7 separate regions of the Homo sapiens genome follow, and regions 2, 3, 4, 5, 6 and 7 are each linked to region 1. Evidence: promoter capture Hi-C in 16 types of primary human blood cells and fetal thymus (Javierre and others, 2016). All regions are on one chromosome and are shown on one strand. The core of a region is centred on a gene start or on the middle of the fragment in contact, and the rest is flanking DNA. Distances in the headings are between cores, read along the strand shown. Region 1 holds the start of CMC1 (C-X9-C motif containing 1). Region 2 overlaps NEK10 (NIMA related kinase 10). Region 3 overlaps LOC124906221 (a long non-coding RNA gene). Region 4 overlaps SLC4A7 (solute carrier family 4 member 7). Region 5 overlaps NEK10 (NIMA related kinase 10). Region 6 has its middle 45 kb from the start of LINC02084. Region 7 overlaps SLC4A7 (solute carrier family 4 member 7).

Evidence for each region. Contacts are between HindIII fragments. The CHiCAGO score rates a contact against its expected background, and 5 or more counts as called.
Region 2: a fragment that was not itself captured here is called in contact with the fragment with the promoter of CMC1 in region 1 in 1 of 17 cell types (M0 macrophages); the score reaches 6.6 in M0 macrophages.
Region 3: a fragment that was not itself captured here is called in contact with the fragment with the promoter of CMC1 in region 1 in 1 of 17 cell types (non-activated CD4 T cells); the score reaches 5.5 in non-activated CD4 T cells.
Region 4: a fragment that was not itself captured here is called in contact with the fragment with the promoter of CMC1 in region 1 in 3 of 17 cell types (naive CD8 T cells, fetal thymus and total CD8 T cells); the score reaches 5.4 in naive CD8 T cells.
Region 5: a fragment that was not itself captured here is called in contact with the fragment with the promoter of CMC1 in region 1 in 1 of 17 cell types (M2 macrophages); the score reaches 5.5 in M2 macrophages.
Region 6: a fragment that was not itself captured here is called in contact with the fragment with the promoter of CMC1 in region 1 in 6 of 17 cell types (M2 macrophages, M0 macrophages, activated CD4 T cells and 3 more); the score reaches 6.8 in M2 macrophages.
Region 7: a fragment that was not itself captured here is called in contact with the fragment with the promoter of CMC1 in region 1 in 4 of 17 cell types (fetal thymus, non-activated CD4 T cells, monocytes and 1 more); the score reaches 7.1 in fetal thymus.

The regions. Positions count from the first base shown.
Region 1 is chr3:28,239,927-28,243,310 of GRCh38, forward strand. CMC1 (C-X9-C motif containing 1) reads left to right here and starts at 1,693. Exons shown (of 4, transcript NM_182523.2): 1 at 1,693-1,886. The coding sequence starts at 1,868. RefSeq lists a silencer at 1,906-1,985. The HindIII fragment of the contact is 9,835 bases long and covers 1-3,384 here.
Region 2 is chr3:27,302,997-27,306,111 of GRCh38, forward strand. It overlaps NEK10 (NIMA related kinase 10), which reads right to left. Exons shown (of 36, transcript NM_001394966.1): 12 at 1,751-1,975. Among named protein-coding and RNA genes, the nearest start is that of NEK10, 65 kb to the right of the region's middle. The HindIII fragment of the contact is 4,760 bases long and covers 1-3,115 here.
Region 3 is chr3:27,641,177-27,644,541 of GRCh38, forward strand. The region is part of intron 1 of LOC124906221 (a long non-coding RNA gene); the gene reads left to right. Among named protein-coding and RNA genes, the nearest start is that of LINC02084, 70 kb to the right of the region's middle. The HindIII fragment of the contact is 309 bases long and covers 1,184-1,492 here.
Region 4 is chr3:27,394,439-27,397,531 of GRCh38, forward strand. SLC4A7 (solute carrier family 4 member 7) reads right to left here. Exons shown (of 26, transcript NM_001321103.2): 19 at 516-677; 20 at 80-331. Among named protein-coding and RNA genes, the nearest start is that of NEK10, 27 kb to the left of the region's middle. The HindIII fragment of the contact is 601 bases long and covers 1,079-1,679 here.
Region 5 is chr3:27,321,105-27,324,222 of GRCh38, forward strand. It overlaps NEK10 (NIMA related kinase 10), which reads right to left. Exons shown (of 36, transcript NM_001394966.1): 6 at 1,073-1,157. Among named protein-coding and RNA genes, the nearest start is that of NEK10, 47 kb to the right of the region's middle. The HindIII fragment of the contact is 3,046 bases long and covers 84-3,118 here.
Region 6 is chr3:27,666,220-27,669,354 of GRCh38, forward strand. No RefSeq gene overlaps it. Among named protein-coding and RNA genes, the nearest start is that of LINC02084, 45 kb to the right of the region's middle. RefSeq lists a silencer at 636-685. The HindIII fragment of the contact is 2,506 bases long and covers 130-2,635 here.
Region 7 is chr3:27,471,839-27,474,941 of GRCh38, forward strand. The region is part of intron 1 of SLC4A7 (solute carrier family 4 member 7); the gene reads right to left. Among named protein-coding and RNA genes, the nearest start is that of SLC4A7, 11 kb to the right of the region's middle. RefSeq lists an enhancer at 1-286. The HindIII fragment of the contact is 3,019 bases long and covers 1-2,976 here.

The DNA.
Region 1 (3,384 bases), core at 443-2,942:
GGGGCACACAAAACCCATGATATTACAGATACTGTTGCTTAGGATAAGGCTAAAGTAAATAGTGCCTATTTAAGTGTTTTTAAAAATGTGTTGATTTAAAAACAAATGTTAAATAGTAATGTTTCAAGTAATAGCTATGGCAGAAATGGTAGAAGTGGTCCTTTAAAGTCTTTCAAATGCATTGTATGATATCACATTTATTCCTCAGAACAACCTTGTAAATTGGAAACCAAAGTCCAGAAAAATAATAGAACTTACTCAACTCACTAAGATAACAGATCAAACTTTCCTCCTTTACCATAATACCCTTTTGCATATAGAAAGATTTAGTTTAATTCTTGAATATGGGTGTCTGACCTGTGTTTTCATACTCCATCTCCTCAAAAAGATTGCTTTAGCTTTCTAAATCAAATCCTTCACCTTCAGAACAATAAAAGAGGCATACCAGAGTCATTTTGGTGTATTTCTAAGCATATTTACAAAATATACAAGGAAAAGGACCTGATTCCCTGGCTGGGTGAGTGAAACGTTAATTCTTCACCTTGGCACCTCAACCTACAGCTGTAATAAGGGCCGTTATGCCCAAATAGGCCCTTAAACGGAAGACCTGCTGAGCAGAGACCCACTTTCCCAGCCCTGCTCAACTGCCTCAGCTTTTCTGCCAACTGACCAGGCGGAAGCAGCAGCAGGGGAGGAGGGACTGCAGGTAGGTGGGGAGGGGATCATTTTGAAAGCCCTGAATCCCTTGCAGGGAAGAAGCAGCTGCTCCTTGTTTTTCTAAACATCTGTCCCATCTGTCCCAGGCCTCAGCTCACCCTTTCGTGGCTCGAGCCAGTTAAACGTGAATTTGACAAGGAAGCACTTCTGAAGGCTGGTTTGTGAGTGGAAATGAACCTAAGTGCCACCTAGAAAGTTTCTTCTATTGAGAAGAGGTGAGTAGTGGGTCTTCAGCGGGACGGCTATTACCTTCCTTCATTTTACTCTCACAAAACATACAGCTTTTACTGATAGAGGCAGGATTTGTAACATCACCCAAATCATACTGTACGTCCTGAGGATATTATTTCACAACATAGAGGTACTTCTAGAGCCCATATTTTAACGTCTAGGAGAGCCACAGTCTTTGATTTGAAGGAGAAATAACGATATTGCACACACCATATCACCTTTATGGTAGAACAAGCTGTGAACAACTAGTGCGTGTGGCGTTTATCACATTTAACAGCGTGTTGCTTTTATTTGTCTCCTCTGCCACACTGCTCCTTGAGAACAGGGACGTTATTTTTATTGTTATTTTCCCCTCGTATTCAGAACCGTGGCTGGAACTTGGCAGGCATGAAATAGACATTTATGAATGAATGAACGTTAACGAAGAAAAAAAAAGGAACTGGATGATTCATTTGGTTCTCCGAAGGCGGGTATGGGGGACGGGGCTCGGACTTTGGCCCAGTCACCGAGTGAGGCACAGTCCCAAAGTCCTGCAGGTCCGCCTCCAGTCACGGCCGACCCGGGTCTGCAACTGGTGCACAAGCCTCCTGAAGCGAGGCTGCGCGCGTCCTGCACGGTCCCGCCCCAAAGGCACGCAGACACGCCCCCTTTCCTGGTCATTCCCCCTGCGAAGTCAGTTCCACTCTAGTTACAGGATTGGGGCGGGGCCAGAAAGGCGCAGGCGCAACGGGCGGCGGAAGTAGGAGCCTGGGAAGGAAGAGGGAACGGGTCCTGGCGGTGCTTTGCAAAGGGCCCGTGTTTCTGTTGCGGGAAGCTCCCGGGGGTCGCACGTGCGTCCGAGCCCAAGCCCCTCCCCTCCACTCCCCTTCCTGCGTGCCCCGGAGCCGCCAAGCGGCTACGTTCTTCTCGGCCCGCCGAGATGGCGCTCGACCCCGCAGGTACCGGGGCGGGAAGCGGGGTTTGCCGAGGGGCCTCGCCCCGGGTCTCACGCCGCGGGCCATGCGGGCTGGATGCCGACCTGGGAAAGGTGCAGAGCTCTGGGTAGCATTGCTTCCACCAGCGTCTCCTCATACCCGGCGGCTGCTTCGCCCGGTCTGAGGTCATCTTCTCACTTGTTGGGGATTATGGTTATCTGAGGTTGCGTTTGTTGTCTAAAGTATCATCCATTGTGGTTTCCAACTTAACGCGACTAGTCTCTTCATTGTCACCCTCTTTTCGCCCCTTAAGGTCACAGATGCATTTAATGTATGCTGCAGACACTCTGGCCCCAGAAAAATTTGTATATTTGTTCTGGCGCACAGTTTTACATTTCTGTTTGGGAGTTCATGGACCCCGAGTTCATCCTTGTAACCCAACTTAAAAACATATTTCAAAGGATCCATCACTATGGCAGGAGTCAGTTTCTTTGGAAAGGATCTTCAAAATCTTGAATGTTGTTTTAATCTCTTTGCTTCCAGCCACTTCCGTTTGCAGCAATAGTTAACTTACCCTCGAATTCCCGTCCTTGTGGAAGGTCACCTGCAGTATCTTTGCGTTAGGCTATTTTTGCAAGGGAATAGATAACATTTTTGGAGGGAATGGTAGTTGGTCTAGTCCATTTCTTTCATTTTATGGATACAAAAAGTCAAAACATTGAGAGGTAAATGGCGTCAAACTTGGGAGATTCAGAAATGGAAAATGCTCTTTCGGAGCCTTCAAGGAGCATGGAAAATATATGTAGCACAGAAATAATGTTTTAATTGAACATGTTATTACCATGCTAAGTGTTCTCTATTATCCAACAATAATATGTGGTATGGTAGGTCCTTTTAGCTCCATTTTACAGATTAGGAAACTGAGGCGAAGAGAAGTTAAGTGACTAGTCCAGCAGGTAGTGGTAGATCAGGGAGTACTCTAATTTGAAGCATAGAGGAGTTCTGGAACATAATGATCATATTCATTTTGGACTAGGTGGTTATGAAGCAGTTAGCAGTTGATCTGGGCTTTGAGGGATGGAATTTCCAGTGGTTGGAGCTGGAGAAGAGGCAGCCCTATGAGCAAAGGTTTAGATAGTAAGGTGCACTGTGCGATGCTTGGTTTCAGGATGACTACCATGATTTGGTTCTTGAGGGTAGAAGGGGTAGAGTATAAGTGAGGGGTGAGTAAGGAAGGTTCAAGTTTAGGCCCATATAATTTATGGTATCTTTTTTTTTTATTTTACTGAAACGGAGTCTCACTGTCGCCCAGGCTGGAGTGCAGTGGCGCTATCTCGGCTCACTGTAGCCTCCGCCTACTGGGTTCAAGCAATTCTCCCACCGCAGCCTCCTGAGTAGCTGGGATTACGGGCGCCCGCCACCACGGCCGGCTAATTTTTGTATTTTTAGTAGAGATGAGGTTTCGCCGTGTTCGCCATGCTGGTCTGGAACTCCTGACCTCAAGTGATCTGCCTGACTTGGC
Region 2 (3,115 bases), core at 503-3,002, 940 kb before region 1:
ACTCCAGCCACAAGACAGCCTGGAAACGTCTACCCCTAATGCCAGCTGCAGTCAGCCCAGGGTCAGGCACAAGCTCTGAAAAGAAACTGTTTATCCAGCTGGGGTAATAAATTCTCCCAAAGCACCAGTACATATTTAACATAGAATAAGAGTTAAAATATGTCATTGTCCTGGGGAAAAGTTTGCTAACATTGCACCATCAAAATGGACTGGAAAATGATACTTTAGATGTGAAAGACCTCTTTTTTACCAAGGATAGTTATGACTTCAGCAAAAGAAGAAAGCTAGATTCAATTCTATATGAGAAAAAGGCAGGTTTTGTCTTTGAAATTCTGCTTAACTATTACAGAATTTCATTTTATCCTTATGAAAATAGCTGTTCTCCAAGAGGGCAACCCATACCTATTATAATAGGTATGATTGTCCAATAATAAAGAATAACCACCACCATGATCATCATTACCATCGTCATCCTACAAACCTAAATAAAAAACCTTTGGCAATTGTAATTATTTTGACCAAGGGGCTGGCTTATTATGTCACAGCACTAATGAATGACTTATAATTTATACTATAAAGTAATTGATATTTTTATGTCACATTCATGAAGCAAGTGGGTTGTCAACAGTCTATAAATTTTTCCTTTGTTTAGGTAATGACAAATATTGTTAACAAAGCTACTGTTCATGTCTGTACAGTCTATTCTTATGCTTCTGAATGTTCCTTAAGAGAAAATGAAGTTGGTAACACACAGTTCTGCAATATCGCTGGAAGCATAACAAATACAAAGTCATAACAACATTGATTTGATAATATCTAGTTATATGAAAATTGATAAGTCCCTCTGCTTTTATTAGAATGAGCTTTATTTATGTACTGCAGATCATAAAGACGATCCAGTTCAAGGAGGCATACTCATTTTTAACTTTGGTTCAGCACCCATAGAACTGAATTATACTTTATAACAATATTAGGTAATAGAATCTTCCCATGGATGGTACCACAAGATATTATTATTAAATACTTCAATCTATTTAATTCAGAAAATACAGAAGTTAGTTTGCAACGTACTTCTAGAGAATTTCAATTGGGAACAAAACTATCCATTCTCCGTGCTCCTGACTTAGAATGTCACTGGAATTCTACTTTTAAAAGAGAGATAATGCCCACCTTAGAGGACCGTAATGAAGATTAGAGAGAAAAGTAGAGAACTGGACTAGAGTTAGTAACATGGCAACCACTTGATTAATGATATCATCTTTCAAAAACAAGGATTGTACACCTGCTCCTTTCATATAGGCTTTGTTTTCTCTTTATAGATAATAACATATGTGCACACACAAACATTTTAGGAAAATATTAGTAATCATTATACTTGGAATGACAAAATGCATATACTAATTCAAGGAAAAGGTGGCAAGACAAAGGTTTTTTTTAGGTTACTGGATTTCCATTCAGCCTTCATTATATTTGCAGATTGATGGCCTTCTACATTCCCAGCACTGTACTGGAGGTTGGTGATGCAAAGATAAATATATCTGGGTCCCCAAGGAATTTAAAAGATGAATGCCCCTGACATTGATTTAGAACATGCTTGTGACAAGTCTAGATGACTTTGGAAAGCATGAATTACCAAAGAAATCCCAAAGCAGGAGGGAATGAGGTGACACACACCAATCTGCCATCTTGTCACAGAGTCCCCAGACTTCAACAAACAGGGCAAAGTAGGCCAAAGCCCACTTTTACTCACCCTTGTAAAATATGAAGAAGCTGTTTGATGCCTCCCCAAATGCGAATTTCCACGCTGGTCTCAGGGTCCTCACAAACCTGTACCAGAATCCAGACAATGCTCCAGAGGAGCTTCAAGTGGTCAGAGTGGAGCAGACTGAGGAGGACCGGTATCCCCTCATAGAGCTTCACCTGCTCTTTCACCTGGGGCTCTGCACAAAGTAGGCGCAGCAACTCCGCTGTTAGTCTGAAAGGGGTACAGAGGGTGGGGTGAGAATCACAGCATCATGAGTTGATTACTTTACATTAAGACTAAAGCTATCATCAGTGCATGAAATATAACCCTAACATTTTGTAAGTCATGGGTCAATGTGCCATTTTCTGTAAGGAGCCCGATCAAAGCCAAACACTTTTAGCTTTACTAACTGTACAATCTGTGTCACAACTACTCAGCTATGCTGAGATAGCATGAAAGCAGCCATAGACAACATATAAAAATAAATTCGCATCCCTATGTTAAAATAAATCTTTATTTACAAAAATAAGCAGTGGAATAAACTTAGACTGTAGGTCATAGTTTGCAGACCACTGTTCTAAATTATAGGCTCGTTGCATCATCGTTGGTCTGATTAAAAACCTACTGACCAGCATTGGCAGGGCGTGGTGGTGTGTGCCTGTAATCCCAGCCACTTGGGAGGCTGAGGCAGAAGAATTGCTTGAACCCAGGAGGCAGAGGTTGCAGTGAGCCGAGGTCACTTGCCACTGCACTCCAGCCTGGGTGACAGAGCGAGACTCTGTTTAAAAAACAAAAACAAAAACAAAAAACAAACCTACTGACCAGCAAATAGGTATCAAGGACAAACAATGACATCTGCATTGTGCTAAAGACTAAAAAAAAAAAAAAAATAATAATAATAAAAGCCTTATTCTAGTCTTCAGAAACTTACTATGTAATTGCAAAATAAGACATTCTTAGAAAATGTCAAAAACACTACAATGCAGGTAAGTTAAGGGCAAAGCACTCAGTTACTATATACTCAGTGCAAAGTGCATTAAATTGATGGTAAAGACACAAGGTTCAGCTGTGCCATGAAATATTATGATGATAAACGTTTTATAGAATCATCCTTAGTCCTCCAGTTTCATACTCTAAACACTCCCCTCCTGGATGGTGTCATCCATTCCCATGATTTCAAACACTCTTTCAACCCTGTCATCATGATCTCAGCCCAGGCATTGCTCCTAACTTCCAGAAGTTTTAGCCACATGGATATTCCACAAGTACTCTCCATACTACCCCTAAACTCAAAGTCATTAGCCTCCTCCCCAGGTCTATTCTTCACCTTATATCCCCGATCTTGACTCATGGCACCACAATATTTTCAGT
Region 3 (3,365 bases), core at 88-2,587, 600 kb before region 1:
TCTTTTGAGGTTCAGCACTTGGAGAATCACTCTTAGATTGAGGTAGGACCACTAATAGCTATTATCAGGAAAGAATATCAAAGAGGAACTCACCATGAGGGAAAGGTAGGTCAAGGCTGGTAACCCAAGTTCAATGCAGAGAGGTGGAAGAGGGTGTGGGGGAGGGTTGGTATTGGTACAACATACAGCTGAGGACAAATACTGTTTGGTAGTGCTATACCTTGGTGACTATATGAAGCACATGAAGGTTAATGAAAATAATTATAACCTTGGATCAATCCCAAGTTGGGGTGCTATTAACCAAGGCATGATTCAACCAGTAAGTGTCTCAGTTTAGCAGATAACTGTCCCCCAGCCTGTGTGGGATCAGTCTCCAAGAGTCACACCCACAGCCAAAGCAACAGTGGGATTGGCCTGATGTGTGACTTTCAGTTTTCTCTCTCCCCTTGCTTTGATTAAGGCCCTCATGTCCTTAGACTATTTGCAGAGTGATGAGTGGTCTTTGGGAAATACTGTGCTTCTTAATAATAAGAGAAGGCCTGATTCCACTTGAGCTTATCAAGTGGGCTGTAAGAACTTCAAGGCCTAGGTTAAAGGTAAAGAAAAAATGTATACGGTTATCACATAGATTAGATTAAATCTTTTTTTTTTTTTTTTTTAACAAAACTCCTGGCTGAGTTAAGTAAGTGACTTTTGAGTTAAGAAAAAGAGATACCTGGATAAGGAAGACTCTACATGAGTGTTTCAGCTAAGACTCCGGGGCTTGGTGTGGATGAATCTGTTCATTAGCCCCGCCTTACTAAATACTGCCTTAATAGGGCTTATTTCTATCTGAATATATAGCATGATTCACTTGCTCTTGTTTATGAGGTAGGAGTAGGGAGGAGGCTGAAGGAGAGTGGCAATGGGAAAGATATATGCTTACCTTTCAAAGGGAGGTGGCCACTTGGCTGCCAGAAGGTTGGGGAAATGACCTCTGTCAGGGCAATATCCCTACATCAGATCCATTGCCTGCCCTTAACCAAGGAAACCAAGGAAAGCCCTGAGCAGGGCTGGAGGAGGAGAGTGTGCCAGCCTCATGGGCTATAGTAGTCCTGGTGACGGGCTGAGACATACAGAAACCAACACAGAAGTGAGGACTGACTCCTCTTAACCCTCCACTTCAAACTCCATGGGAGCACTAAGCTTGGGGAACACACCCACCATTCAGGTGAACCTCGGGAGGTTTCAGCATGTTCCAAGGTACAACAGTCAAGTTAGCACATAACAGCATGTCTTGAAACGGCAGGTAATAAGCATTAATCTCCCTAATAAATTCATTAGTCAGCTGTATAGTCTTGAAAGTGGTTTGTACACTCAGATCATAAATTAAACCCTGGTTAGATATTAACCACCTCTGACTTTGCTCAGCAAATGTCCCAGTAGCCCTAATGGGATCAAAAGATTCCATTAAGGTTTCCTGCTTTTCTTTTGCCTAATTACACTGATACAAAGCTTCACAGAGAATTTTTAGGGTATAGTTTAAAAAAAAAAGGCAATGCCTAATCTAACTTTCATGGGCATATTTACTAAAAAAAAAAGACTGACTATGCACGCAGTCATTCAGGATTCTGGATTTCTGGAAACAGATACTTCTCAGGGCATCTTTGTAGGGAGATTAGATGAGATTTCTATCACTCACACGGCTCTTCTTTCAGGGTGGGCTCCCTTGAAGCCTATGTCCGTAAGACCAGCCCTCTGTCCAGTTGTCTTTCTCTCTGGCTGTTTTGACACACATTTCTTGACGCAATATTTCCCTTTTTGGGTATTTTTAAGCTTAATCATACATTATCTATCCAAATCCAATGTTTTGCATTCCTTGTATAGAGAGGTCTGTGAACTAGCAAAGCTTAGAGAGATACCAGGAACTCCTGGCAAAAGTATTTTTCAATACCCTGCCAATCACCTCTCTCTCTCTCAATCCCTAGTTTTATTTTTCCTTCCCCTCTGCCCTGTGCTGCCCGCTCCGCAGAGAAAATCCTTCTTTCTGTCTTCCACTCTCCTGCCTCTTTGCTGTGAAAACTGCACGCATGTTCAGAATACCCACCTTTCTGTTTCTCCCTCATCTAACCCCCTAGTCCCCATCCCTTCAAACTGACATTTCCCCAAACCTCTCCAGATGGTCCCTTGTGCTTTATCATCCCATCTCTACCTCTCTCATCATTCAGCCCTTGGAGGTAAAGGACCTCTGCATAACAGAAGTTGGTTTTGAAATATTTCAGAATTTGACTCTTCCAGACAGCTGTCTTTGTGGCAGGCATGATCCTAGGTCTCTGGGGACACAGAGGAGAACAAAACAGAAAATATCCTTAGCTCCTAGAGCTGACTAACATCCTGCTCTCAGCTCAAGGGGGTAAATACCTGTGGCATTTCTACTCACAATCAATTGGTTTGTTTATTGACTGTTGCCAAATTTCGGGGGTTTTTTAAAACTGAACTTCCTTGACAGTAACAAAGCAAGACTTTGTATTTATTAATATACTTTAAAAAATTAAGGTGGAGAAGTTTTTTCAATATGTTTTAACGTATCCGCAATGAGAACACATGCGCAAGCAGTCTATTGAGAACTCAGAGGTCAACAAAAGAAGGTTGAACAAATGTTTGGATTGTCAGTGTCATCCTGCAGATGGATCTGCTCTCCAGATGAATTTTTAATACAATCTCAGGTCCTTTTCATTGGAAAATTATCTTATTTTACACTGATACATTTATCTATGCATCTATTTTTTTTTTATTTTTTTAGAGATGGGGTCTTGCTCTGTCACCAAGTTGAAGTGCAGTGGCATGATCATGCATCCTCGAACTCCTATGCTCAAGCAATCTTCCCACCTCAGCCTCCCAAGTAGCTGGAACTACAGGCACGCACCATCATTCTTGGCTGATGTTAATTTTTGTAGAGACAGGGTCTCACTATTTACCCAGGCTAGTCCCGATCTCCTGGCCTCAAGCGATTCTCCTGCCTTGGCTTCCCAAAGTGCTGAGATTATAGGTATGAGCCACAGTGCCTGGATGACTTTTTATTGTTTTAAAATTTTTTATATACATTTATTTTTCCATATTATGAATGTAAAATGTAAGTAAGTTTTTAAGGGCAGAAGACAGAAGAGAGAGTACATGTGTTTTCAGTTCTTTGGTCTGCTAATTGTGTGAACTCAGAGGTGACAGGCAAATAGTTAAAAACAGGTGTGGCTAGACCCTGACTATGCAGAACAAGTATGGATTTATGGGCTCATACCAGCTGAATATGAGGCCTGGAGTGACATCAGAAAATGGTTTCCTCTCAGCTAAAAGGGGCCTATATTGAATATTCAAAAATTAGTAGTCTG
Region 4 (3,093 bases), core at 129-2,628, 850 kb before region 1:
ATTTTAATGTTTCATGTTCACATAACTAAGTATAAATGTTATAATAAGATTGTAAAACACGGCAATAAAGAAATTTTACCTTTAGGACTGAAGTCATGAACACAGAGAGGCCCATTAGAATAAAAATCATTAGCCCTGTAACCCGCTGTTCACGAATTCCCAAAAACTTGGGTTGTTCCCCTGGAGCAGAACATTCAGATTCAACTTTTAAGCTGTTGACATGACTTATTGACAACACTGTTGCAGCCACAAACCATGGAAGTCCCATGACAGAGCAAACTCCCAACATAACGCCAACCATGAGCAAATCAAGGTGATAGCCAGCTCCTTTCTGAAAAGTGAAATGAACATAAATATCTGTAAGTCTAAATGGTTCCCTCAATTTAAAATTCTACACGAATTATAAAGAGGGAAGAAGCTAATTTTCATCTTACATCTTTTAATGTTCTAATCATTACAAAAACAGCTCAAACCCTTGAAGAATCACAATGCTTAAGGCAAAATTCTAAAATTACCTTCAATTTGTGTTCCTTTCTGTTTATAATTACAGCTGTGATTTGTTGATCCATAAAGATGAGAATGGTACAAAGCAAAGCAGGAATAGCAGCTATTAATAAGGTCCACCAAGGATTATCTCCCAGTGGGCTTATGATCCACCCTCTCTCTGGATGAGTAGGCTGTTAAAAAATTAAATATAATTTTCAAAAAGTCTCCTTGCTGTATTGCACTAAATTTCCATAACATAGACTTGATCTGTTCCAAGAAATACCCAACGAATGGGAAATAACTTAAATCTTGAACTACATGGTGAATTATTTTCAAAGATGGCCACAGTAATTCTTCCTATCCCTATAACTATACCTCCTGTCATTTGACTCAGTCAATCTTTCCACCTAGAGGTGGAGTCTGCCTCCTTCCCCCCTGAAACCAGGATGACCCTGTGACTTACTTTAACCCACAGAATAAGGCCAAAGTGACACTATGTGATTTCTAAGTCTTAACCTTAAAGAACCTTGCAGCTTCTTCTCTAACCTGCTTTGAACCCTGAGATTATTACGCTGTCGAGTAAGCCTAGATAAGCTTTCTTGAGGATAAGACTATCCTCAATATAGTCTATATGGTAGTGGGTGTCGGGGGCGGTTCCCCAGGCAACTATTCCAGCTGTTTCATCCATCTGAGCTGAGGCCTCAGACATATGAATGAAGGCATATTGCCCCCATTGATGACTGCACCCCACAGAGCAGACCACAAACCAGCTAAGCCTAGTCTCAACTGCCACAGAATTATAAACAAATAAAGGGCTGTTATTCAAAAGTTTGTTATGTAGAAATTGATAAGCAAACTGGAATGTCATTTCCACATGTTCCTGCATAATTCATATAAGGTGAAATCAATCTATCCACTAAACTCCTAAACTAAACTGCTTTAGTCTAGTCCTGCAGACTTAGTGATTTTGACAGGGTCAGTACTAAATCAGAACTGGTCCACAATACATGGTATTTCCAAAGGAACTACTAACAAAAATCTGGCACTTTATGAGATACTAATACATTTTGACAGTACAATGTAAGATTTTATAGCAATTTTTTTTTAAAGATCAAGAGAGTTTAGTATGTTTGGGAGAATACTGCATATATAGAAACCTAAACATATGTTTTTATTACCTCAACTTGGTATTAAGCTTGTTTCTTCTTCATGAAAACATTTGTCAATATAAAAGGGAAATTTAATACTTTCAAAGTTCAGGTAATTCAATCTTTCCACACTAATATATATTAAACTACCTCACACTCAATGTTGTGTATGAACAAAAATATTTTATTCTACTTATACAATGCCATTTACTCTTAAGAGTTCCTTGATTTGCTTCCTCAAGTATATTTTATGCCCCTTGAAATCAGCCTATTACCTGAAAGCCATATCAGTAAATAAATAACAAGGACATATTTAAGAATCAGAATAAGGAACTTAGGCCAGGATTACAGGAAATTACATCACGTTTTGAACCAATATTAATTCATAGTTTCATTTATTTATATATTCTCATAAAATAAACCTAAAGTTTAATATTTTCATATTTTTACATTAAAAACATAAGACTTTCTAAAAATTGTTGGCAGATCATTTTCCACCTGTGTACCCTACTTTAAAGACCACTGATTTTAAAAATAACATTTTGGTCTCAGTGCAATATTATAAAATTAGATTTTATAATATAAAATAAAATGATCTTCATTATATTCCTTATTTCGGATCCCCTTTAAACCAGCTGCTTCTGAAAGAAGTCATATAACTTGTTAAATTAAATATAACCAGTGACACTATTCACAATGTCTTTCCTTTTAGCATAAGCAAAGGAGGATGGAAGAAAACAAAAACAGAGCAGAAGGAAAATGAATATATTCAAATCTGCTAATGAAAGCAGAAAATTCAAATGGATGCTCAGATCATTTTTCTTATAGAACACACTTCGTTTTCTCCTTATGCTACTGGAAATTGTTACATGGAATTTTCCAACTACTGTCAGATATACTACCCTTCTAGAAATTTAACTAGACCCTCTCTGCCACTCCTAGAAAATTGAATTTTAGGTTACTTTTTTTTTTTGAGATGGAGTTCCCCTCTTATTGCCCAGTCTGGAGTGCAATGGCATGGTCGCAGCTCACTGCAACCTCCGCCTCCTGGGTTCAAGCGATTCTCCTGCCTCAGCCTCCCGAGTAGCGGGATTACAGGCGCCCGCCACCACGCCTGGCTAATTTTTGTATTTTTAGTACACCATGTTGGCCAGGCTGGTCTTGAACTCCTGACCTCAAGTGATCCACCTGCCTCGGCCTCCCAAAGTGCTGGGATTACAGGCACAAGCCACTGCACCTGGCCTGGGTTACTTCTTTATAAAAAAATAAAGGCTGTTTCCTTCTCCCTGGAAGGTACAGCAAGAACTCCAGGTAGGAGAGCAAAGACTTTTTTTTTTTTTTAATGGCTCCCTACATCTTACCACAAATATTTTCATTCACTCTCTCTAATGGACCAGCGGTGATACTTTTAAGTTCACATGTCTCTTTTCTGTCCATATTGTCATTGTTTATATACATA
Region 5 (3,118 bases), core at 357-2,856, 920 kb before region 1:
AAGGTGTGAGCTTCCTAGTAGCTTACGAGGGCAGGGCATAAAAGGAGACACTTTTTCAGTTAAAAAAAAAAAAGTGTTAAGTAAGCTTTTCTTTAGAGCCTCACAGCTAAAGCACTATGTCTTTGCTACTCAAAGTATGGGCCATGAACTAGTAGCAATAGCATCCCTGGGAAACTTGTTAGAAATGAAGAATCTTGTTTATACATACTGAGTCAGATTCTGCATGTACAAGATGTCCAGGTGATTCCCATGCACATTAAAGTTTGAGAGGCACTAAAAACAGAGGCCAGGCATGGTGGTTCATGCCTGTAATCCCAGCACTTTGGGAGGTAGAGGCAGGCAGATCACCTGAGGTCAGGGGTTTGAGACCAGCCTGGCCAACATGGTGAAACCCCATCTCTACTATAAATGCAAAAATATTAGCCGGACATGGTGGCACGTGCCTGTAGTCCCAGCTACTCAGGAGGCTAAGGAGGGAGAATTGCTTAAACCTGGGAGGTGGAGAGTGCTAGGATTATAGGCGTGAGCCACCATGCCCAACCAGGAAAAGATTCTTGACCTCAGTGCCCTCCTTTGGGACAAGCAGGAGGCTCCTTGCTCACCTCTAGCTCAAATTTGACTCTAGAGGTTGGGAAGGGATTGACCCTGGAGCAGCTAGTAAAGCTCCATTGGCTGCCTCTCAGCCACATGAGCAGGCCATCACTCATCACTGCTGACTTTGACCTAGGGAGCTGCTTGGCCTTGAACATGTTTGAAGATGTGGCCAAGTGTATACCTCCTTGAATGGTAAATGGTTTAAAATGCCAAATAGCAAAGAAAACATAGACCAAAAAGTTCAATCCACTTAATCCCATAAGTAATACAACAGAAATACACAAATTTTTGGTCCCCATTAAAGCGCTCCTCTCAAATCTTTTTAAATAGTAGATGAGACATTCCCCATATATGGAAGCTATTGAGTTGTGAGAGAGAAAACAAAAAGTAAACATGGACTACTTCAAAGAAAAGCCCACCAGTCTTTTATTACAACTTTATAACAAGTAAAAAAAAAAATTGTATTTTTCCAACCAACCTGATAACATGGATCCCTCATTAGTAGCCTCAGACAGATTAACACTCTCAGAAAATGAATAGATGGGGCTCGATTAACCCACTCTCTGAAAGAAGAAAACAAGAGAACATGTTCACGTTTAAAATCCCAGTGTGGCAATTCATAAAAATGCAAGGCTATGAAGGAGTATAAAGAACGCACTAAGCACTTAGTTAATTTGCACTGGGGACTGTTATTTGGTACTTGAACACTTGACTCATTTTAATTCAAAACACATTTAAACTATCTTTTTCAGTGTGGAGGAGAGGCCCCCCCCAAACTTATTTGGTTCATGCCACCACCCTTACTGACTCAGTAATATTTCATAGTACCCTAAGATCAAACGAAAGAGCTAAATGTTCCAAAATTTAGGTAGGTCTAACTTGGTAAGAATTTACGCCATAACCAATTGGTATCCACTTGAAAAAATAATACATTACATCAAAAGATTATTTTCATAACCACACTTACTTATTAATGGGGGTGTGTGCATTAGTGGAAACAAAACAACTTCTCAAGCCTGGGAATCAGTTTGGACTTCACCATCTTTGTTTTCTCTTCCCCCTTTCATAGAGTACTTGTTTTTTTATCATAGCAACCACTGAAAACTCAGCTTCTGAAAGATATACCATCAGCTAAAGGAAGGCAGGATGACCTAACATTGAAATCACAAACTGCCTTCAGTTGTTCATGCTGTATCTGATGGATGTTGAGTAGCACTGAGGGTGTTTTTGGTTTTGTTTTTTAGAAAATTGAAAATACCTCACAGTGTCCCCTGGGAGTTCTCTGCAGCCCTGAGGCAGTTTGGTGCTCAGTTTGGGAAACACAGGGATAAAGTATTTTTTTAGATTAGTTTCCCCAGAAGCAGACCCTGAGATGAAGATTAGTGTGTGCAAATTAATGACTGAAAACATGCTCTCAGGAGAGGCCAGTAAGAGAGTGGGAGAAACAGGAAAGGGAAGAGGAGAAATCCAAGCAAGGGTATCACATCAGCCAAAATCTCCCCTCAATCCGAACAGTGGGGCTCTGGAATGTAAGTTACTGCTCAGAGTTGTCCCATACTGAGGCAAGGGCACTGGGCTTTTCTACACTACTGAAGCTGTTGCCATTCGCTAAGAGCTGCAGGAGGGACTGATGGAGCATTCCCAGACACTCCCACTGGCTCTCTGTGCCTGCAGGCAAGGTAGACTCAAGGAACCTGAGGGTGGTTGGTGCAAGTGTTGTTGGACAGGAAGGTGCCAAAACCAAAAGGGTGAGAACGGGAGGATTCTGGGCAAAGCACCAATACTACCCTACAGTTCTATAGTGAGATTCAGCAGAACCCTTTGAAATCAAAGTCACAGTCACTGGAGAAGTCATATTATGACAGAAACTGAAGGTGTATTTGCCACAGGTCTGTTCAGAGGGGGGAAAAAAAAACCTGGATTTTTACTTCAAATATTGAATATAGCCAATATCCAAAATACCATCATCAGATTTCTAAAGAACTATTTAACTTAAAAGTATCACTTCAATGTCATCAAATGCTACAAGTATTCACTCAACTACCTTTTGAGAGGCTTTCAAAAAGTATGTTTCTTTAGCAAAGAATGATTTAGTTGCATCCTTCAAAGGTCTTTAAAATAAGGACAATTGCAATTTTGCAATGTTTTTGAAAGAAGCCAGACACTAATCAAATTCAGAGGTGGTCACAAGGCCTTGCACCCAGCAGCTAGCAGCTACTCAAATATATATGGATGACCAATTCTCTGATTTAAACCAGTGTGGTAAAGGTAGGCACATTTTAGGCACCTCTCACTTAGATTTAAACCTAAGGGAGCATATCAGTCAAGGCAGAATCCCTCCACTGTCATGCCTCTATGAGCTCAGAAGGTGAGGTTAGCTTAGAAGTAGGAAGTCAGGGTAGGGATAGTCTATGCTCTTTGGTGACACCCACATCCCTTCCTGACCCTGCTGGGCCACTGTGAACAATTTCTATTTTGTCGCTCAGCTGTCCCACATCCAGTTATAGCTAGTAGTAAATGCAGT
Region 6 (3,135 bases), core at 133-2,632, 570 kb before region 1:
AACCAGGAAAAAAAAGAAAAAAGGAAACTAGTATTTGGAACATAATATGTAGCTCAGAACTTCCAGCAATTATATGATGTCCACTGTCCATTAGTAGAAAAAATAAGCCACAGTTCATGAAGAAACAGAAGCTTTTCCTGGTACTGAGTTCTCAGAATCTATCACTAGACTCTTACTTATTGTAATGAAGTCTCCCACAGCTGTTTTTACAGGAAATGCAAACTTGTCTCCCATGTGACTTTGGCGAAAGACCCAGTAAACAACAACAGTCCTGAAAGCACAAAGCTACAGGAATAAGTCCTCCCAGCCCTATCCTCTACTCAAGGTCTGAATGCAACACACCTGTGGCTTGTTTCTGGCTCAACAATAATCTTTTCCTCACAAAGCAGCTCTTAAGCACTAAGCAGGGCTTCCTGTCACTAATCCCCAAAACATTTCTATGGGATAAAAACAGGAGACCAAGGGTAGACTCCTGCTAATTTAGAAACATTTTAAAAGATGGCTTGGGTTCAGTCTGCTCATTCCTCCCTGCCTCTACCACCACAAACCTAAAGAAAACAAAATTCCTACAGAAAAGCAAACTGTAAAACTCACAACCGCAGCATGAAATGAGGAAGCAATGGGGTGCAGCACAAACTGTAATGTGGAAATGCTACACAGCGTCTCTCTGCTGCCTCCCACCAGCCAGGGCCGGGCTGGGAGCCAGGTCTGAGAAATAGTAGCACATGCTGCCACTCTTTTTGTGGATGGTTGCCATGGCAACCTGCCTCTGTTCAAATGCTGAGCATCTTTCAGCAGTCTCATCCTTATGCTCTTCTGGCCTGGAAGGGAAGTATTAGAAAGAAGGTAGTATGGGGGGGTTGGGGGAATACCAATGAGGGTATATGAAACAAATAGATTGTTGGAGGATCAGGTAAGATGCCTCCCGTTATACTGGAAGTCTCAAGAAAGGGGTGGAAGATGGGTGGGCTCTCGATGTAGGTCCCACCCTATTTTCTGCAGCAATTTCAGTCATTCATTCATTTACCCACTTGCTCATTCTTACATTAAACTAATTTTATGGAGCACCAATCATACTCCAGGCATTATACTGGGCATTGGAGGTTTAATGATGAAAAAGATACCATCCCCCCCCCCCCCACAGGGAGCTCACAGTTCACATGGGAGATAGGAGATACACACACACACATGCGTGCACACACACACACTCAATTAATCATGATATAATGTTATAAGTGCAGAAATAGACATACATAAAAAATATTACAGACTTGAAAAACCAAGTGCAATTAATTCTTAGAGTTGAGTGTAAGGAGCTGATAAGAGAAAACTGCATAGAAAGGTTAATACTTGAGTAGGGTCTTGAAGGAGTTTGTTAAATGGAAAAAAAAATTGTCCAGACAGGGCACAACACAAACACTTGTGGTATGTTCCACATGGGATGTATCAAACAACCACCAATAATAACAGCACTTGCAGAGTGCTCAGCTACTGTTCTGTGTGCTTTATATGTATTATCTCAGCTAACCCTCACAGTGACTCTGTAGAGGAGGTATTGCTGTGCCATTTTACAGAGGCACAGATAAGTAAAATAACTTGCCTAAAGTTACACTGGTATTTGATATTGGGTGGGAGAACCAGGCTTCTGGCTCCAAAGTTCATGTGCTTAATCTCAGCCTTATGCTTATCCCATTGTTCTGGGAAGGCAAGGTCACAGGATATACATGGGGAAAGAGGAGAAACAACAGTTGAGACTGCTGGGAAACAAAGATGAGGGGTAAATTATCATGCCCTCAAATGCCATTTTAAAAAATCTGAAATTTGTGTTTTGGTCATGAGAAGCCATGATGGTGTTACAATGAAAATGGTATTATTATGGTGATTCTGGAATTCACGTGTAGGATAGAATGGAGGAGAAACAGACTGACGATTTCAACAGCAGGAACAGGAAGAGAAAGGAAGGGGAAGATCGCATGTAGTTTAAAACAAGGCAAGGCCCGTGTCATTTGGTTCATCACAGAGCCTGGTATACCACAGGCATTCAATAAATATTGGTTAAATAAATGTTTCAAAGTTGTCTTATTTGGCTTTACCTGAAAGCAAATTCTGAAATAAAAGTTCCCATATGAGAGTTTATTTAGGAAGTGTGGGGAATACCAGCAGATTAGAGAAGTAAGACAGGGAAGGAAAGGCAGCCAATAAAGGCCGGGCACTGTGGCTCATGCCTGTAATCCCAGCACTTTGGGAGGATGAGGCAAGTGGATTGTTTGAACCCAGGAGTTTGAGAGCAGGACGAAATGATTAAACTTTTTCTCTACAAAAATACAAAAATTAGCTGGCTGTGGTGGTGCATGCCTGTAGTCCCAGCTACTCAGGAGGCTGGGTGGGAGGATTGCTTAAGCCTAGGAGGCGAAATTTGCAGTTAGCCAATATCGTGCCACTACACTCCAGCCAGGGTGACAGAGTGAGACCCTGTCTCAAAAAACAAACAAACAAAAAACCCCAGAAAACAAAAAGGAGGTATAGAGACAGCTTAGTGTTTGAGTTATTTGAACATGTCTGTGATTGACTGATCCCTGGCTGCTGTCACTGGCTGAGACTCAGCTATTTGTTATAAAAGTATATTTCTAAGTTAAGCTTTCAGTTAGTTTAAATACTAAGTTGGTTGCAGTTTGTTCAGTAAGGAGTCAAGTACTGAGGCATCTTCAGGCCAAATTTAGTTTAATTTAACCATTGGGGGAATGTGTTCTTAGTGGTGAGAAGTTGGTGTTTTAGACTCTTGGATTTTATTATTTGGGTGAACTCCAGAAAACTTCCCAAATATTATGGGTGGCTTTTGTAGAAGGTTAATTATATTATTCAACGTTGAAAGCTGAAACTCCATCAAGTAATATTTATAACAAAGATTGAGTAGAAAAGACGGAGGAAGGAGAAGGAAGAGGAAGAGAAAAAAGTGAAGGGAGAAAGAAGGGGAGAGAAAGACTACTACTAAAATCGGCATCACAGGTCCCAAAGCCAGCTCTTGTATCTGAATGTGCAAAACTTGACTAGTGTCTAAAGTTTCTAAACAGTGAGAATGAGATATTAACACGCGATTTGTTTTTCTGGCTAATCATGAAGTTCTCATCTGAAGAA
Region 7 (3,103 bases), core at 217-2,716, 770 kb before region 1:
CTGCTAACCAACAGACCCAACAAAAATTTGTTAGCCCATGCTCATTTTTTACACTTTATATGCCATTCCTGTGAGGCCGATTGAAAAAGCTGAAAATATTATCATTCTGGCTTTACATGAAAATCTTCTCAATGAACAGTATTTACTCCTCCAATCAGCTATTTATTCTAGATTAGCAGAGAGGCAGCCATCCCCCATCATCTGAAATTCACTGCTACCAAATTACAATCTTAAACTGCCCCTCCCTCTTCAAAGCTCACAACCATAACAAAGAAAGCACTGGCATGGTATAAAACAATCCCTCAGAGCTAATCCAGTCAATACTCATTTATTGACCTTTTAAGCCATTTATTGCTAAACCAATGCAATTAGCAGATGATAGCAAATAAGTTATATAAAAATTGAATACATGAGCTTAAGTCAGTGACAAGATATTAAATTTTAAAATGTCTTTTTAAATTGAATGCAGCTGGTTTCCGCAATGCACGCCTGTAATCCCAGTGCTTTGGGAGGACAAAGTGGGCTGATCACCCGAGGTCAGAAGTTCAAGAACAGCCTGGCCAACATGGCGAAACCCCATCTGTATGGGTTGCGTCACTGCACTCCAGCCTGGGCGACAGAATGAGACTCCATCTCAAAATATATACATATAAATAAAAATATATATAAAAACAAAATAAAATAACTAAATTGAATGCAGTGATATAAAGTGTATAATTTGCATTTTTCAGCTGTGATCTGAAATGATGAAATTTAATCTAAAAATCATTTCCTCCACTCCCTTTATGACCTTATCTCCCACCTCTTGCCTCACACCTCCAATATGAATTCAAATTCTGATGGGCTCATACTTTGCTATGGAACCATATTAAAATACTGTTTTGATTTCTAATCAATGAAACAATTTCTATTTGTATCTTACCTCTATCAAAATTCCTTTTCAAAAACGAATTGCATCAGGCTGGGCACAGTGGCTCATGCCTATAATCCCAGCACTTTGGGAGGCCGAGGCGGGCAGATCACCTGAGGTTAGGAGTTTGAGACCAGCCTGGCCAACACGGTGAAACCTCAGCTATACTAAAAATACAAAAATAAGCTGGGCGTGGTAGCGCAAGCTAGTAATCCCAGCTACTCGGGAGGCTGAGGCAGGGGAATCGTTTGAATCTGGGAGTCGGAGGTTGCAGTGAGTCCAGATCACGCCACTGTACTCCAGCCTGGGCAACAGAGGAAGACTCTGTCTCAAAAAAAAAAAAAAGGATTAGAATCAGCTTAAAAAATGGAAGAAAACATCTATCTCAAAAATTGATAAGCTGGGCATGGTGTGTGTGTACGCACCATTAGTCTCAGCTACTTAGGTGGCTGAGGCCAGAGGACCACTTGAGCCCAGGAGTTCAAGGCTCCTGTGCACTATGATTATGCCTGTGAATAGCCACCACGTTCTCGCCTGTGCAACATAGCAAGACCTCATCTCTTAAAAAAAAATGTAATTAATAAAGTCAGTACATATACAACCGGCTCTTTAAAACAAGCTGAATTACTTTAAAATTCCTACTTTAACGACCCCTTTGAGAAATCACATTTTTGTAAAATAGAAAGGCAGCTTGAGGCCAGGATCATGCCCATAATCCCAGCACTTTGGGAGGTCAAGGTAGGCGGATCACTTGAGCTTAGGAGTTTGAGACCAGCCTGGGCAACATGGCAAAACCAAAAATACAAAAAATTAGCCAAGTGTGGTGGTGCGTGCCTGTAGTCCCAGCTACTCGGGAGGCTGAGGTGGGAGGATTGTTTGAGCCCGGGGGGTGGAGGGTGTAGTGAGCCGAGATCATATCAGCACTCCAGCCTGGGTGACAGAGTGAGACCTCATGTCAAAAAAAAAAAAAAAAAAAAAAAGGCAGATTGAGTATATTAACCCAATAAAATTCAATGCTACATAGTTATTCTCGAAATTTGTGAACATCTTTTAAGTTATCTAATAATACAAATACATACATAAAATCACAAAGAGCGTATGTGCACAAATTGTGTGTGTACCCAAAACAAAATTTAGAAGACTATCACTTTACCCAATAAAATTCATGGTAATTATTTCATATTACAGAAAAAATATATAAATGGTAAATTTAAGATGAAACTATGAATATGAACCCTTTATAAAGTATAATTTATTATCGTCCTGCCTCAACAGAATAACAACTAGAAACTATCTTACGCCTATTCGACTGAACACTATGCTAAGCTCTCTGACTTTCTATACTCTAGAGACTAAATTTTGAAAGTCTAACATTATCAAAAAGATACAGTAAGATCTCATCAAAACAGAATTAAGCTATCTACAACAAGAATCAGAAAGCAGTCTTAGGAGGTAAAATTTGTGTCTCAGAGAATAAATAAGTGAGATAACAGAGGCCTCCATCATCATCTCCACTAAATAACTGTCATTTCATTTGTTATCAATAACAAATCTACAGCAGATAAGAAATTCAATGATAAAACAGTTAAACACAAGGTAAGTTTTAAAAACAGTATAAAGCTAGTTAGTGATCAGTACTCTATTCTTAAAAGGAGAGATATATCACATTTTAAATATTTTGTCAAAATGGTTAAATCATTTAAAGGTAATCCCAGCACTTTGGGAAGCCAAGGCAGGCAGATCACGAGGTCAGGAGTTTGAGACCAGTCTGGCCAACATAGTGAAACCCGGTCCCTACTAAAAATACAAAAAATTAGCCTGGCATGGTGGCGGGCACCTGTAATCCCATCTACTCGGGAGGCTGAGGCAGGAGAATCACTTGAACCCGGGAGGCAAATGAGATCACGCCATTGCACTCCAGCTTGTGCAACAGTACAAGACTCATGGAGACAGTGACTCCAGGAGACAGTGCGAGCCTCTGTCTCAAAATAAATAAAGGAAGACAATTATGCTTTAATTAGGCTTTTAAACAATTTTGTCAACACATCATATCCTTTAAAATGTGAAGCTTTAGGCAACAAACCAGTATCAGGCCAGGCGCGGTGGCTCACACATATAATCCCAGAACTTTGCCAGATCACTTGAGGTCAGGAGTTCGAGACCTGCCTGGCCAACATGGTGAAACCCCATCTC